Regions from separate parts of the Homo sapiens genome. Here region 1 is linked to region 2. Evidence: promoter capture Hi-C in 16 types of primary human blood cells and fetal thymus (Javierre and others, 2016). All regions are on one chromosome and are shown on one strand. Each heading gives the region's core, a stretch centred on a gene start or on the middle of the fragment in contact. The rest is flanking DNA. Distances are from core to core; before and after follow the strand shown. Region 1 overlaps SYPL2 (synaptophysin like 2). Region 2 holds the start of SARS1 (seryl-tRNA synthetase 1).

Evidence for each region. Contacts are between HindIII fragments. The CHiCAGO score rates a contact against its expected background, and 5 or more counts as called.
Region 1: a fragment that was not itself captured here is called in contact with the fragment with the promoter of SARS1 in region 2 in 1 of 17 cell types (M2 macrophages); the score reaches 5.3 in M2 macrophages.

What each region holds. Positions count from the first base shown.
Region 1 is chr1:109,474,317-109,479,746 of GRCh38, forward strand. SYPL2 (synaptophysin like 2) reads left to right here. Exons shown (of 6, transcript NM_001040709.2): 3 at 1,265-1,389; 4 at 2,460-2,661; 5 at 3,502-3,693; 6 at 5,062-5,430. The coding sequence ends at 5,232. Among named protein-coding and RNA genes, the nearest start is that of ATXN7L2, 6.9 kb to the right of the region's middle. RefSeq lists an enhancer at 3,217-3,736. The HindIII fragment of the contact is 4,180 bases long and covers 1,761-5,430 here.
Region 2 is chr1:109,211,749-109,217,146 of GRCh38, forward strand. It overlaps SARS1 (seryl-tRNA synthetase 1), which reads left to right and starts at 2,170. Exons shown (of 11, transcript NM_006513.4): 1 at 2,170-2,380. The coding sequence starts at 2,245. RefSeq lists a silencer at 1,964-2,183 and an enhancer at 2,234-2,593. The HindIII fragment of the contact is 5,942 bases long and covers 1-2,915 here.

The DNA of each region.
Region 1 (5,430 bases), core at 2,601-5,100, 260 kb after region 2:
TCTTTTCTTTTTTTTTTTTTTTTTGGCGGTGGGCGGGAGAGGGACAAGGTCTCATTCTGTTGCCAGGCTGGAGTGCAGTGGCACGATCTCGGCTCACTGCAACCTCCGCCTCCCGGGTTCAAGTGATTCTCCTGCCTCAGCCTCCCAAGTAGCTGAGATTACAGGCATGCGACACTCTACCGCCAGGCTGATTTTTGTATTTTTAGTAGATATGGGGTTTCACCATGTTGGCCAGGTTGGTCTCAAACTCCTGACCTCAAATGATCCACCCGCCTCAGCCTCCCAAAGTGCTGGGATTACAGGTGTGAGCCACCGCACCTGGCCTCTCACCTCCTTTTCTAACCAAAGTGTGTTTCCCAGAAAGAAATCTGAAAATCATAGGATGAGGAAATTTTATTTCACTTGAGAGAGAAGGTGTAGTAAAATGTGAGGAAAGGTGGAGAAGAAAACAATTCGAGTGACCTGAGACACCTCTGGATCTTAACACTGAGAAATGGCAGCATCAACAGATGACAAAGGGAAATACCAGTGGGGAAACAGTGGAGACTGATAAGGCAAGTGGAGGGTACTTTTCTCTGGGCTTGAGCCAAGATTGTCACATTGGCCCAGCCAGCACTATTGCTAGAAGGCCATGTGCCTTTTGGGGAAGAGGAATTAGGCTGTCAGTACTATGGGACAGTAGTATGGCCCATCTGGGGTGGCTTGGTAGAAGCTGGCCCCTCCAGCTATACCTCCACCAAGGCAGGAAGCCACTGGAAGTTAGCAACTAGGAAACAAGATTAGATGACTAGTTCAAAGGAGAAATGAAAAGCGTTCTAGGCATGTCTGATCTAGGTTGATGCAGGGGAATCTTTTTGAGTGTGTCTCTCCCTTGGGAAGGAAATTCAAGTCTATCTGTAAGCTAGAAGTTTCCTAAAGCCTGAATTGCAGAGGTTTTGTGTTAGTCATCTTAAGGAGGCTACCTGTGGTCCCCAAGTCATGCCCAATGGAGAGATCTGGCAACTGTCCATTTCCTGCCTCTTCATCTCCCTTGCAGACACCACTCAGTCAACCTTGTATTCATTTGGCTATTTGGTCCAGCAGCCTGAGGCTGGAAGATAAATGGAAGCCATGGGTTTCTACCTAGGAAGAACTTGATTAAAGGGGATCCTCACTCTCCCCCACTCCCGCACTTAATGTCTGCACCTGCGGGGAGTCACGGTTAGTTCTCGACTTTGGCCAGTTGAGGCCTTCTGACTCTCAAAGAGGCTTCACTCTCTCTCAGCTCTTTGCTATTTTCGCCTTCGGGTCCTGTGGCTCCTACAGCGGGGAGACAGGAGCAATGGTTCGCTGCAACAACGAAGCCAAGGACGTGAGCTCCATCATCGTTGCATTTGGCTATCCCTTCAGGTGAGCAAGAATTGGTTCCAACCCAGCACATCATCTCTCACTTGACTGGCAGGACCTGCTTGGTCTCTTCCTCCTCCAGAAACCTAAAAACCATTCATTGCGTGCCACTCCAGATTCAAATAGAATGACAAAACTTAGATCCTTTCTGCTTTTTAGCAATTTCAGACACATTGACCAGAGCAAAACGTAAGGGAAATACAGATTGATCACTGTTATAATAATGTTCCAGTCCATGGACAACCCATGGCAGGTCACACCAGCTCATACAGAAAGAGCCAATGCAGTTTGGGATGGAGGCTTACAGGAACCTGGACAAGCTGGACAGGTCTCTCTGACCCTCAGTAGCCTCCTCTCTGCCTTGAAGGTAGGGAAGCTTATTAGTACTTACATCCTAAAGAGTTGATGTGGGATCCTCAGCCAGTACGACCAGGATACAAGTGGGCACACCTTGACAGGGAGGTAGAAGTGATCTCTTTTCTGGGTATTTGAGAGCTTAGGAAGTAGGGAGCCCAGGTGTTCAGGGGAAAATGGGGATGAGGCTCACCTTTTCAGAAATTTCTAGTATCAGCACCCAAGTTATATTAACTGTCTCATATATAATAGGCTGTGTTTTTCTCTTTAATTTGTCCACTGTCTCATTGGAAAGCCCAATAAAGCCTGAGAATGGGTGATTCCAACCTTATCTTGGCCACTCTGGGCCTGCACTTTCCAGAGGCAGAATGAAGCTGATCTGCCTAGTGGTTTGGCTACCAGAAAGAGAAGAACTACATATATTGCAGTTGTGACCTAAAGGGCCCTGGAGACACTTGGGAATACATGGTCACCATGTCTGGGCAGGGTAGATGAGTGGGGTGGGTTGGGGAGCAGCTGAGGGGAAGGTAGAGTTTTACTGGAAATTTCGGGGGAGTTCCCATCTTAACTGCAAGGTTCCTTCCAGAAACTTGCCTCCTTACATGACCCCTTTCTTGGCTCTGTAAGAGTCCCCTGCTGAGAACTAGCACAGGACTACTTCTGGGCCAGGGAGAGAGAGGATTGCCTGAGCTCAGGATGGCCTCCCCTGCCACCTGCAGGTTGCACCGGATCCAATATGAGATGCCCCTCTGCGATGAAGAGTCCAGCTCCAAGACCATGCACCTCATGGGGGACTTCTCTGCACCCGCCGAGTTCTTCGTGACCCTTGGCATCTTTTCCTTCTTCTATACCATGGCTGCCCTAGTTATCTACCTGCGCTTCCACAACCTCTACACAGAGAACAAACGCTTCCCGCTGGTGGTGAGTCAGCACAGGCCAGAAGGAATGGGGTGGAGAAACAGATGTTTGTGAGGGGGTTGAGGTCAGAACTGGAGCAGAGGACAAGCATGGCGGCTTCCACCCCCATGGTGGAACCTCTGCCTCCATCAACCTCCCGTTGCTTGCTCCTGTTCACAGGAGGCACAATAGCACCATACACAAGCAGGCTCTGGAGTTAGACTGCCTGGGTTCAGATCCCAGCATGGCCCCTTACTTGCTGTGTGATCTCGGACAAGTTAAATAACCTCTCTAAATCGCAGTTTCCTTAACTATAAAATGGGGATAAAATAATACCTGCTTCATAGTTTTGTGTGTGTATGTGAAAAAATGAGAATGCATGTATCTAGTACATAGTTAGTCTCAATAAGCATTAGCGATTATTAATATTATTCCTCTTTACTCTCTTCCTATCCCAGGCATGCAAGGCGGAAGGGGTGCCTTAAGGGACCCCATTTGCGTCCTGCAGTCTGCCACTTGTATCTGAGCAATGGTGATCAAAGAAAAAGCTGGGAGGGAAGAGTGGGGAATTTAGGCTCCACTTGGGATGAGTGGGTTTTGGGGTGAGGCTGACCAACGATGCCTTGGTACACTGTTGCCAGATCTTAGATCTGAGGGCATTAGCAGGGCTAGCCTGAGTGGCAGGACTCCTTTGGGGGCAGTGAACAGATGCCTCAGGACCACCTGGGTTCTAGGTGTTGGGTAGGATGGGAAGAGGCAACTGTCCTGGCACCCTGGGATTGCCAGTATCATGGCAAGTGGAAAAGAAGCAAGGGAATCATGGGGCCTTTCTGAGTGTATTTCCCATCCCTCTGCTCCTCCCAGGACTTCTGTGTGACTGTCTCCTTCACCTTCTTCTGGCTGGTAGCTGCAGCTGCCTGGGGCAAGGGCCTGACCGATGTCAAGGGGGCCACACGACCATCCAGCTTGACAGCAGCCATGTCAGTGTGCCATGGAGAGGAAGCAGTGTGCAGTGCCGGGGCCACGCCCTCTATGGGCCTGGCCAACATCTCCGTGGTGAGACCTGTGGCCACTGCAGGAAGCAGCACCAGCCCTGCTGCCCAGGCCTGTCCCAGCTAGCAGGTCCTGAAAGGAAAGAGAGGGTGTCCCAGAGCTGGTGTCCCCTGCACCTGGAGCTGGTGCCCTCACTGCGCTTCATGCTGGCTGCTGGCTCCTGGCTGACCCTGAGAGGACATTTTGGGATGAGGGGAACCCAAAAGCCACTTAGCCTTCTGTTCCTTCCTCCTTCTGCACTCTGCCTCCAATTCCCTTCTCATTTCCCCACCTCTAGGCACGCTCTCTGTGATGTCTCCCCTCCTCCTGCCTGTTCTACACAATGTGTGTGAACACATAAAGGGGAGCCTGGGGCTGTGGCTGAGCTTGAAGCTGCGAGCAGACCCAGCATGAGTGGGAAGGGGCTTACTGTCACTCAGCCCTCCAGCCTGGAAAGGGGCTTTGGAGCAGTAGTGGGTCTGCTGGATGCATATGGATTTGGCCATCCCAGTTGTTAGAATGTTGAAATATGTCCATATCCATTGGTAAAGAGCTGAGGTCTTGAGCTTCTCAAATGCTGCCCGTCATCCCAGCCACCTCAGCCCTGCTCTGAAAATGACTTGTTCCCACATCTGAAATGTTTAATGGCTGGCACACCAGGAACACACGTCTGGAACTTGCTGGAACCCTGCTTATGGTTCCCCCCCAAAAAAATTTTATTGTAGAAATGTTCACAGGTACAACAAAGTTGAAAGAATTTTACAGTGAATACCCATGCACTCACCACCTAGACTGTGCCATTAACTTTTTACTAGACTTGCTTTATCACATATTTATTCACTTCTTCATCCATCAATCCGTCTTGTTTTTAGTGCATTTCAAAGATAATTTGGGACATCAGTACACTTCCCTCTAAGTACTTCCTGCTGTGAGGTTTTTAAAATATGTTGAATAACTATTTGAACATAGCCCTGGCTAGGTGCCTGATCACAGGGAAGGAGCACCTTGGACAGCTCCTGCCACACCTACCTGGCGGAAGGTGCTCCGAACAGGGCCTCACGCGTGCTGTGGGAGGCGCCCCAGGGCTGACTTTTGCTTGGCTCCTTGCTATGCTTTGCACGATGCTCCTCTAAAGGGTCAGATTCTGCTAGTGACCAAGCTACAGCTTGGGTGCATGGTGTGGACAGAATTAGACACTTTCACCTGGGATTCCCCTAAACAGTTGATGGTCCTGAGCCCTGCCTCTATACCGAGCTCTCTGTCTTAGTCTTTCTAGTCCTCTGTGCTTCTTCCCTGCACAAGCCCCAACCCCAACTGCAATAGGAACTCCCCCTCCCTGTTCCCACAATGACCCCCTGACTATTCTCACAAATTCCCCTGATGTCTTTGCAGCTCTTTGGCTTTATCAACTTCTTCCTGTGGGCCGGGAACTGTTGGTTTGTGTTCAAGGAGACCCCGTGGCATGGACAGGGCCAGGGCCAGGACCAGGACCAGGACCAGGACCAGGGCCAGGGTCCCAGCCAGGAGAGTGCAGCTGAGCAGGGAGCAGTGGAGAAGCAGTAAGCAGCCCCCCACCTGGCTATTCCCGAACTGGACAGCACCTCTTCAACCACCTCCGGCTTCCAGGACCTTTCTCTTCCTCCTCCTCCAATTCCCCTCCCCCATCATTCTGGTCTTTGAGCTTTGAGACGATGGGCAGGCATCAGCTGTTGGAAACCTGGGCAGCCCTCTCAGTGGCTTCCTATCCTCCTTCTTGCTGGA
Region 2 (5,398 bases), core at 920-3,419:
ACCTTCCTAAAGGGTTGACCCAGTGGCCCTCCTCCCCTAGGCCTGGGATCACTTCAGCCTCAGAAACACCTGCCACTGTTTTAGAAACTTAATTGGCAATACACTTTGGCGGTGCCTTCAATGACATGGAAGCAGGGAGCGCCCCCATCACAGACCTTGCCCTCAGAAGGTTTTAGGGAACCCAACACTTTGAGGAGAGTCTTCTTAGATGTTTTCCTCCAAGACTGCAGCTCCTCACCCTTCCTTTCCACTGGTTTTAAATCTAATACCATAGGCAGGTTGAACCAAGGAGAGCACACCCAGACAAGCCCCTTTCCTCTGCCTCCCTCAGGGTCTCTACTTAGCTCTATCATTGTTGTTAGACCTGACCTACACTTCAGGGTTGGCTTGGCAGAGGCTTTTTGGGGAGCAGGGATAGTGTAAGAGGCAAAAAAAAACAAAAAACAAAAAACAAAAACAAAAACCCACACTCAACACACAACATTTCTGTGACCAGATGCAGTGGTGAGGGGCCCTGGGGGGTAAGTTCCTCAGACACCAAGCGATTCTCCAGTGGACATTGGCTAAGCATTCTATAATTCAATTCGATTCTGATTCTGACACTAGCTACCTGGAGGTAGTGTCAGATTCCATGGGGTAAGGGCTTGATCCCACTAGACTGCTCCTCTTCAGATGCCAATTGCAAGTAGTAGATTTCACCTATACTTCTTAGCAGCTATAAACTGGGGCTCCCACTACCCCCTCCTTTGGTCTGATTAATTTGCTGAGAAGGCTCACAGACCTCAAGGAAACATTTACCAGTTTATTATAAAGGATAGTACAAAGGGTACAAATGAACAGCCAGATGAAGAGATGGATAGGGCAAGGTGTCAGGGGTGCAGAGCTTCCATAACCTTTCTGGGCAAGACACCCTCCTGGCATCTCCACATGTTCAACAACCCTGAAGCTCATCAACTCTTGTTGTTCGAGCGTTTATAGAGTTTGATGTCCAGCTCCTCCCCTCCCCCTTTCCTGGAGGTTGAAGGGTGGGGATGAAAGTTCCAATCCTCCAATCACTTGGTCTCTCTGGTGACTGGCCCCATCCTAAGGTTATCTAGGGCCCCCATCCTAAATCACCTCCTTATTATAAACTCAGGTGTTATCAAAGAGACCCATTACGTATAACCCAGGAAATTCAAGGGTTTTAGGGGCTGTGTCAGGAACCAGGGACAAAGCCCAAATATATTTCATATTATAAATAAATAATATGATAGTTAGCTATGTCACACCCTCATCTCAGGAGTCCATGACGGCGGTATAAGATCAAGAAGGTCTTAGCACATCTAGCTTCGAGAAGGCATTGGAAGTGAGGCTTTAAAGTTTCTGCAGAGTGGAAGGATTGGGGGTGGGGGTGGGGGAGGAGATCACCTGTTCCCAAATCCTTCAAATAATCTCTTGTTATCAGGGAGATTCTTTGATAACTTTGGCTTCACTCGGCAACTAGAATATTTCATTTAAAGGTCTGAACATTATAAAATCAAAGTATGATACAAACCGTTCTTCAAGACGCTTTCAAATTGACCCAAGACATGACCTCAACACCTTATACGGCGTTCAAATCTGCTTAATGTCCCTTTGGAAAAGTTTTCTCTCGTCTCTCTCTAAAAGACAACCGCACTTTCCCAAAGCTGTGCTCTTAAGAGTTGGTAAAGTGACAATTTGGTTTATCCAATAATCAGATTAATAAAGGTATACCATTTCTAAGGCACGAGAGCAGGAATCTTAAGCTGAGGTAGCCCTGGGACTAAATATGCCATCCTCTTGTATCAAGATGGAGAAGACGGCCGAGGTTCAGGGAAAGAGCCCAGTGGAAGAACCCAACCTAGTGAGAGGAAAACGGGCACCTGGTGAAGGCCCCGGCCTCTAAGCTAGGGATGAGGGGACAGGCCTCTGCCTAGCCTGAGACAGGAGTAGGAAACTGAGGCATTCACACTTTTATGTGGCGATCACAGTTCCTGCAGACTGTAGCAGAGCTGGGGAGCAGGAACCAGAGGTATAGTCCCACGCCCACCCACTCTCCCCTCCCCTCCCTCCGCGGCCCCGCCTCCAACCAGCCGCTTCCGGTCGCGGGGAGGGTCGCCTGCGGGCTCCAGCTGCGCCTGCGCAGGAAGGGCGGGTCAGCGCGCCGGCGCAGTGCGGCGGTCACAGGCTGAGTGCTGCGGCGCGATCCTTGCTTCCCTGAGCGTTGGCCCGGGAGGAAAGAAGATGGTGCTGGATCTGGATTTGTTTCGGGTGGATAAAGGAGGGGACCCAGCCCTCATCCGAGAGACGCAGGAGAAGCGCTTCAAGGACCCGGGACTAGTGGACCAGCTGGTGAAGGCAGACAGCGAGTGGCGACGATGTAAGTACCGGGACGGGCGGGTTACCTCCTTGATGCTAAACCCAATTTTCTCTCTCAAATCCAGCCACCGCTCCTGAGGCCACAGCTTCCACCCTTCGTCAGACCCCCTCCCAGGGTGCGGTGGCTCCGAGGTTCTCCCCATCCCCGAAAACACAGCCTGGTCGCCGGGGTCATCCCACTTTCTCCTCCACCCGGGCGGAGCGAGGTCCCTTCCACGCGTGCTCAGTGCCGTTCGCTGCCAGTGTGCGTACGCACGCGCATCGGGAGCTGTCAAGCCTTCCTGCCCCAGGGGTTGCCAGAACATGCCGGGGCGGGAGGTTGTGGGGTCTACGCGGCTTTCCTAACACGAATCTTTGGTCCCCCCCAGTCTTTTTCTCATCTTCAGCAAGGCCAGAGTGGTTTTCCTTTGTTTTGATAGGATCAAAGGCTTCTCCTGAGACTGCGTCACTTCTGCAACACAGTAGATTCATTCCTTCGGTATCGGAAGCATTTCGGGGCGTTGGAGGCCGCTCTTGGCCAAAATAAATGACCCTGAAGCTTTTCGGAAGGCCATCCCCCGACCTATGGGCATACCTTTAAGAATTAGAAAAGTCTTTTCCGTGGTAGATCAAACGCGAGGGGAGTGAGGAGGCGAGCAAAAGATTGTAATGACTGAAGCTGTTTAATTGTGATTTGTGGACGTTTTCCTTTAAAGACATTGGCAGAGTTGGGCTAGAACCTGGAACTGCCGGATCTTGGAGTCATATCGGGCATCTATCATGAAGCCGAATAAAACCATAGAACCATCTGCCCATAAATCTCTGCCTGTATTAACTGGAGTGGTCGCTGGTTGGGCGGATGCTGTCAAGTACTTGTGATTTGATTTGTCTGATGCAATAGGTCTGCAACCATCTGGGAGCTAGGTCGATGACAGTACACTGCAAAGGCAGCCACTATCCAAGAGTGTGATGGATTTCTATTAGGAAAATTGATTTTCTCCTGTTTATAAGGATCTTGGATGTCAAAAGAATATTTGTTTAACTTGAGTTTTGTGCTGATTCTATGTCTTAGGCCCTCTATTGTAGTAGTTTGTTTGATTGTGAGATTCCACACTTGACCTGAAGTTTCGAGTTGCAATGGAATTTAATTTTGCCACATTTTTTGTTTAGGATAAAACTAGCCTGAGCACTGTTCTACTGAATCTGAAGTCAGGAGTATCAGATTTTTGTGTCAGTCCAGCCCTTAGCCAGTGCTAAATGACTTTGAATGTGTTAGCTAGTCTTTTGGGTATAATGTCCACATCTGAGGGATTTGTCCCTTATCTGAAAAGTAGATAGGTGGTGAGTTCTTCAGGGACAAGGATTCAATTTTATTCATACAGTATATATGTGGATATACATATACACATTTATACATAAAATCCCAGTACCTAGCACTGTACCTGGTCCTTGGTAAGGCCTTGATAAAGGTTTGTTAGAGGCGTGAATATTTTCTGTCTTCAGGGCACTTTATATTCTTTATGAAAAGCAGTTTATGTAGTTTATGTTATTGTTTTAAAAAACTTAATCCTAAATGTGAAGTCATTTCTTTTCTTTGTTTTGTTTTGTTTTGTTTTTGAGACGGAGTCTCTCATTATCACCCAGATTGGAGTGCAGTGGCACCATCTCGGCTCACTGCAACCTCCATCTCCCGGTTTCAAGAGATTATCATGCCTCAGCCTCCAAGTAGCTGGGACTACAGGTGTGCACCACCACACCCAGCTAATTTTTTTTTTTAGTTGAGATGGGAGTTTCACCATGTTGGCCAGGCTGGTCTCTAACTCCTGACCTCAAGTGATCCGCCTGCCTCAGCCTCCCAAAGTGCTGGGATTACAGGTGTGAGCCACCATGCCTGGCCAATAGTTTATTTCCAATGCATCTATTAATTTGATTCTTTTCTATTTGACAACCCTTTCCAATATTCTCTTTGCATCCAAATGGAATTTATGTTTTTTCCCAAGTTCCCAACTGCCCAAGGTAGACACTGGCAGATTTATATCAAGGTTCTTTGACATCTTGAACTTCAGATCAGAGGATGGAGTTCTTCTCTCATTGCCTTGAGCAAGGGCTTATAACCAGAGCCACATTAAGAACTCAGATCATGCTCCCTAATTGAGGACACATAGCAAGCTTCACCAAGCCCTCCACTACAACTATACCAATTTGTCTTCCTGTAGACTTACAAGGTACCACTAGGGTTCCTTTGGAGAACTCAGGAGTCCAGTATAACTTGGAGTGATAATACCACATTGGAACTCACAACTCTTCTAACTCCAGGGATTTGAATGTGATTTCTTCTTTTTAATTCAGAGTAGCGTAATGATCCTACACTTGGGCATATTTGTCTTGGCCCCACTCCCAAAGCAAATAGATTTCCATGTAACTGGAAATCTGCTGCAAACCCCAAGAATTTTATCCTCCCTCAAAAAGTGCTATCCTGAGTGGTTTTTTTTTTCTTTTTACTGTACATTGAAAATTGAAGTTGTTGTTTCCTTTTTTTTTAATTTGAGACAAGGTCTCACTGTGTCACCCAGGCATGATCACAGCTCACTGCAGCCTCAATCTCCCCAGGCTCAGATGATCCTCCTGCCTTAGACTTCTGACTAGCTGAGACTACAGGCGCAATGCCACCATGCCTGGCTAATGTGTGTATTTTTTGTAGAGATGGAGTTTCGTCATGTTGCCTAGGCTGGCCTCAAACTCCTGGCCTCAAGCGATCCTCCCACCTCGGCCTCCCAAAGTGTTGGGATTACAGGCATGAGTCACCATGCCCAGGCTAAAGCTGTTATTTCCTCATAACCTTTACTGCACATGTTTTAAAACAGGTCCTTATCATTGTTTGCCCCAGCAACTGGAATAGCTTTCTATCTGCTTTCAATCTTAACCCAGTCTCACCAGGGCATATAATCTTTCTAGAATGCAAATCTGATCATTTTACTTGAAGGCTTAAGTTTTGCAGTGACATACTTTAGAGCAGCACTGTCTGATAGGAATAGAATGT